2 separate regions of the Homo sapiens genome follow, and region 2 is linked to region 1. The links are contacts of gene promoters, found by promoter capture Hi-C in blood cells and fetal thymus (Javierre and others, 2016). All regions are on one chromosome and are shown on one strand. Each heading gives the region's core, a stretch centred on a gene start or on the middle of the fragment in contact. The rest is flanking DNA. Distances are from core to core; before and after follow the strand shown. Region 1 holds the start of PSMD12 (proteasome 26S subunit, non-ATPase 12). Region 2 holds the start of C17orf58 (chromosome 17 open reading frame 58).

What was found. Contacts are between HindIII fragments. The CHiCAGO score rates a contact against its expected background, and 5 or more counts as called.
Region 2: a contact is called between a fragment that was not itself captured here and the fragment with the promoter of PSMD12 in region 1, in 1 of 17 cell types (erythroblasts). The highest score is 5.2, in erythroblasts.

Annotation. Positions count from the first base shown.
Region 1 is chr17:67,365,064-67,367,951 of GRCh38, reverse strand. PSMD12 (proteasome 26S subunit, non-ATPase 12) reads left to right here and starts at 1,375. Exons shown (of 11, transcript NM_002816.5): 1 at 1,375-1,540. The coding sequence starts at 1,433. RefSeq lists enhancers at 1,170-1,479, 1,500-1,559. The HindIII fragment of the contact is 3,672 bases long and covers 694-2,888 here.
Region 2 is chr17:67,995,279-67,998,456 of GRCh38, reverse strand. It overlaps C17orf58 (chromosome 17 open reading frame 58), which reads left to right and starts at 1,988. Exons shown (of 4, transcript NM_001382359.1): 1 at 1,988-2,334. The coding sequence starts at 2,259. RefSeq lists a silencer at 2,669-2,758. The HindIII fragment of the contact is 3,759 bases long and covers 1-3,178 here.

The sequences.
Region 1 (2,888 bases), core at 126-2,625:
GGACTGCTTGAGGCCAGGTGTTTGAGACCAGCCTGGGCTACGTAGTATAGCTGCTATCTCTACAAAAATAAAAAAAAGGTAAAATTTGTTTCTCCTCTACATTACAGATTATAGCTGAGATATTGTCTTATTTTGCTTGTAGATGGTTTATATTTTCCCTGATTTTCATTGCAGTTAAAACAAACAAAGAGATCTATTCAGCATCTATAAAGCGATGTCGGCACTAATTAAATTGAGAACCACTAACATAATAGATAAACCACTCCAAGATTTCCCGTTTTCCTGTTTGCTTTCCAGGCTGCTGTTGACCATATGCCCACACCAAACACAACCTCATTCCCATTTTCTTTACTTTTCTTTTTCTTTTTTTTTTTTTTTTTTGAGACGGAGTCTTGCTCTGTCGCCCAGGCTGGAGTGCAGTGGCGCAATCTCGCCGGCTCACTGCAAGCTTCGCCTCCTGGGTTCACGCCATTCTCCTGCCTCAGCCTCCCGAGTAGTTGGGACTACAGGTGCCCGCCACCACGCCCGGCTAATTTTTTGTATTTTTAGTAGAGACGGGGTTTCACCGTGTTAGCCACGATGGTCTCGATCTCCTGACCTCATGATCCGCCCGCCTCAGCCTCCCAAAGGGCTGGGATTACAGGCGTGAGCCACCGCGCCCGGCCTCATTCCCATTTTCAAGGATCCTAAGCTTTTTTAAGATCTCAAGCTATTTTCTAGGGACCAGCATGGTATGAATGATAACACATAAAACGTGTAAGGCCCTTAAGAATTGAAATTGTCTCACATGTCATCTAGTTTGATGCTCACGAAAATCCTATAGGGATAACAAATATGTCTTTTTAACTTTTCTTTTTACCAACTTAGTGGATTACAGTGAAAATGAAAACAAAGAGAAAAACCACTTTGCTTATTAAATGACTGAGCTGCTGCCATATCTTCTCTTAGGAGCTTTCAGAGATCCCACAGAGTAAGCCACCAAGATTCTCAAGTAGATAAAACCTTAGAATTTTCTATTTTAAGGTTTATTTTAGCCTCCTGATGTAGAGATGAGAAAACCGAGATCCAAGAAAAGCGACTGGCCACGGTCCTGAGAAATCATATTTCGAAGCAGGGGTGTAGGGATATATGAGATGGTCTGTTCTATTACACTCGCTTTTCTCATCGCAAATTTTAGGTAAAAAGTCTGATGTTCCCAGAGACAAAACCTGACGCTGCAGGCTGGAGTGGCGAGTCCCGCCCCGCGCGCCTCAAGCCCCACCCCCAGGCTGTCCGCGGCAGTGCCTGAGTGGCAACCAGCGCCGGGGACCTCGAGGGGTCCTTTGCGTGGGCTCCCGATGGGCTGCCTGAGCGGGTGCGCGGGCAACTTCCGGTGTGGGTGACGAGTGGTGGCCGAAGCAGGGGGACAGCAAGGGACGCTCAGGCGGGGACCATGGCGGACGGCGGCTCGGAGCGGGCTGACGGGCGCATCGTCAAGATGGAGGTGGACTACAGCGCCACGGTGGATCAGCGCCTACCCGAGTGTGCGAAGCTAGCCAAGGTGAGGAGAGGCCGGCTGGCTGTTGGCGGGCGCCAGGGGCTGAGTCACGGCGCGGAGCCTGCTTAGGCCTCAGGGGGCCTGCGGGCTGGAGCGTGCACCCCCCAATGCCTGTCCAGCCCTAGTTGGGCCTGCACGAGTGGGAGACCCCAGGTCGGCCCGGCCAGGGCTGCGGAGTACGCCAGCGCCTATAGCTTCCCAGACCCTCCCCAAAACAGATGGTCACTTCCCTCCGTGGGACTTAGGGCTCCGTTTAACTTTTTGCCGTTTCTTGGATGCTGTTTAAGTGATATTTACCTTAGTAGTTTCCCAGGGGTTAAGGCCGCTTCAGTATTAAGGCTAGATCAGAGAGTTTCGTTCTGTTGCTGTTGCTCAATCAATTTATGTCGTTACATCGTTTGTGGATCATGGCTATGTGCCTGGTCTTTGGCCAGGAGAAGGGGCAGGAAAGTGATAGTACGAAGATGACTAACACAGGACCCTGTCCTTTAGGAGTTGATGTACGTGATGAATTAGTCAAGTCATGCATGGTGGTGAGGGCCATACAAGGGGAAAGTGTTACTGGAACACCGAGAAGGAAGCTATGCATTCTTAATGGTGCCATAAGGGAAGGTTTTACAGGAAGGCTGACGTTTGTATTGGGTCTTGAGGAATTAGTAAGATTGAGGTGGGGTGGAGTCATTACTGAAGACGGAACTACAGAAGTAAAGACAAGTAGGCACTATAAGAGTTTAACGGGCTTTCCAAGAAACAAGGATGGAGAAAGGTGATAAAGTTGGTACGTATGTATATCTTAGGTTCAGTATGCTTGCTGAGGGGGAGCCACAAATTCATTAAGAGCTTTCTAGCAGCTAGCATCAACAAACATCAGTTACATAAGGGTGGGAAAACTCAGCCGCCTCCAATGCCAGACAGATAACAATAACTGATATTTGTTGAGTAGTTTCTGCAGTGTCAGGCACCGTGCTTACATGCACTAAGCCATTTGATCCTCACCTCAGCCCTATGCGATGGCTATTACTATTATCCTTATTTTACAGGTAAGAAAACTTGGGCTAGAAAAAGTTGAATCACATGCCCCAAGATCATACAGCTAGTAAAGTGGTGAAGCCAAGAAGCAAACCCAGGCAGACCGATTCTAGATTCTGGAGCTGGTGCCCTCACACACCATGCTGTCCTGCCTAGAAGCCTATTGTAGTGAAAACCTGAACTTTTTTTTTTTTTTTTTTTGAGACGGAGTTTCACTTTTTTCACCCAGGATGGAGTGCAGTGGCGCAATCTTGGCTGACTGCAACCCCCGCCTCCCGGGTTCAAACGATTCTCCTGCCTCCGCCTCCCGAGTAGCTAGGAC
Region 2 (3,178 bases), core at 535-3,034, 630 kb before region 1:
AATTTGATTTAATGCTCAACAGGCAAATTTCTTTTCTTTTTTTTCTTTTTCTTTTTCTTTTTTTTTTTTTTTTTTTGAGACAGAGTCCTGTGCTGTTGCCCAGGCTGGAGTGTAGTGGCGCAGTCTTGGCTCACTGCAACTTCTGCCTCCTGGGTTCAAGCGATTCTCCTCCCTCAGCCTCCCAAGTAGCTGGGATTACAGGTGCCCGCCACCATGACTCGCTAATTTTTGTATTTTTAGTAGATATGGGGTTTTACTATGTTGGCCAGGCTGGTCTCGAACTCCTGACCTCGTGATCTGCCCACCTTGGCCTCCCAGAGTGTTGGGATTACAGGTTGAGCCACCGCACCCAGCCAGCAAATTTATTTTCTTTGATTTAATGCTCAACAGGCAAACTTCTTTCCTCCTCCTCCTCCTCTTCCTCCTCTCCTTCTTTTTTTTTTTTTTTTTTTTTTTTGAGACAGAGTCTCACTCTGTCACCCAGGCTGGAGGGCAGGGCAGTGGCGCCACACTGCAAGCTCCGCCTCCCAGGTTCACGCCAGTCTCCTGCCTCAGCCTCCTGAGTAGCTGGGACTACAGGCGCCCGCCACCACGCCCGGCTAATTTTTTGTATTTTCAGTAGAGACGGGGTTTCACTGTGTCAGCCAGGATGGTCTGGATCTCCTGGCCTCGTGATCGACCCACCTTGTCCTCCCAAAGTGCTGGGATTACAGGCGTGAGCCACCACACCTGGCCCTGCTCTCCTTCTTCTTCTTCTTCGTTCTCCTCCTCCTCCTCTTTTTTTTTTTCTTTTTGAGACAAAAGTCTCACTCTATCACCCAGGCTGGAGTGCAATGGCATAGTCTCAGCTCACTGCAACCTTTGCCTCCCAGGTTCAAGCGATTCTCCTGCCTCAGCCTCCTGAGTAGCTGGGACTACAGGTGTGTGCCACCACACCCTGCTAACTTTTTTGTAATTTTAGTAGAGACAGGGTTGCACTAATTTGGCCAGGCTGGTCTTGAACTCCTGACCTCGTGATCCGCCTGCCTTGGCCTCCCAAAATGCTGGGATTACAGGCGTGAGCCACTGTGCCTGGCTCCTCCTCTTTCTTTTCTTTCTTCTTCTTCTTCTTCTTCTTTTTTTTTTTTTTTTTTTTTTGAGACAGGGCCTCTCTCTGTCACCCAGGCTGGAGTGCAGTGGCACAATCTCGGCTCACTGCAACCTCCACCTCCTAGGCTCAAGTGATCCTCCCACCTCAGCCTCCCAAGTGGCTGGGACCACAGATGCGAGCCACCATGCCTGGCTAATTTTTGTATTTTTTGTAGAGACAGGTTCTCTCCATGTTGCTCAGGCTGGTCTTGAACTCCTGAGCTCAAGAGATCCTCCTGTCTCGGGCTCCCAAAGTACTGGGATTACAGGCATGAACCACCCTGCCTGGCCTCAACAGGCAACATTCTGATTAATAATTAGACCTCTGGGCCCGGCGTGGTGGCTCATGCTGTAATCCCAGCACTTTGGGAGGCCAAGGTGGGTGGATCACTTGAGGTCAGGAGTTTGAGACCAGCCTGGCCAACACGGTGAAATCCCGTCTCTGCTAAAAATACAAAAATTAGCCTCGCATGGTGGCATATGCCTGTAATCCCAGCTACTTGAGAGGCTGAGGCACGAGAATCGCTTTAGTCCGGGAGGCAGAGGTTACAATGAGCTGTGATATATAATGAAACAGTTTTACTAAGGAAGCAGTGACTTGGTTTCTCTAGAAATTGCCTAACACACACATTCCAGGATACATTCTCTGTCATCTGGAATCTCCCTTCCACAAACCCACGCTGTCTTAAGCACTATTTTCCTATTTGTTGTTGACCTAATCTAGAAAAAAGCTCCCGTCACTCGTTCTCCCCCACCCAGTCCCTCAGTCCCGAAACACGCTTATTCTCTGCACTTGTCACCCCACCCTTTGCTGCCCCCACCCCAGCGCGCAAACGCACACAGGTTTAAAGTTTAGGCTGTGATGCTCTCCTCGCCCGCAGATCACAGGACAGACATTCCCGGGGACAACTTTGCAAGGCCATGTGCTCGTCCTCCTTAGGAAGGAAGAGGGAGAAATCCCTGCGGCTCGGTTTTGTTCCAATGGTCTGCTCAGCGAGTGATTCCCGTTTCCCCAAAGGCTGCCCCTCATTAGCATGAACGGGGGTGGGGGTGTGGAGAAGGGGTTGGGGGAGAGAAAGCAAGCAAAAGACCAGGCTCACTTTTAGAGCCTGGGAACCCTGTCTGCAAAAATGACAGCTAGAGCTTTCTGGCTCCTCTGTTTGATCGTCGGATCATCCCCCGAAGCACCGGTGGCGGAGAGAAAAAGTAAGATTGGTGTAGTGCGGGGCCCTGGGAGCGGAGCGGGGATCTGTGGGGGGGAGCTGGGAAGGAGGCTCAGTGAAACGTGGGACGAGGAGGGGGGTCAGAGCTCGCAAGAGAGGACACCCCGGGTCTGCGTTCGTCTTATAAAGGAGCAAAGTGTGTCCCCAAGGTTTCGTGTCTCTTGGCAGCCTTTTCGGAAAGAAGCCAATTTAGCTACTGAAATGATCCCGAGCAAGCCGGGCAGGCTGGGGAAAACTTTGCATGTTAAGTAGTTGCTCCATCACGGAGGAGGGAAAGTGTCAAAAGGGGTCGTGGCGCGCCTTTCGGGAGCCGTGCCCGGGCCGGGCTCGCAGGACGCCGCGGGGTCCGCCCCCCTCGACTGGGTGAGCAGGGGCTGCGGGGGGCGCTGTGGAGGGCTGGGGGGAAGCGGGGCCGAAATCCGGCAGCCCCGGGCACTTTGCTCTCCCCGCAGCCCCAGCGCACAACCTTGGGACACCTGAGCCGGGGTTTAACTAACACGCACACACTCTTATACTTCATGCACGAAATGAAATTAAGTTACTCAGCCCGTGAAGAAATGAGGGGTTCTCTGGGGGATCGTGTTTTTGTTTTGCTTTTATTTGGATGTTCTGTCGGCTTCGCTATCTCTGGGAAAAACAGTTTCCGTACCTCACAGGGCAATTTACTCTGGGTTATTTTTCCACATGGAAATTGAATGACTTCAGTGGCATTTAACCCAAATATCAGACAATCTTTCCCATGACAACAGATGGTTATATCAATGGGGAAGCAGTTGTGAGGTCAACAGTTGACAGTCAGGAATTGGATATCCACCAGAACTTTATTC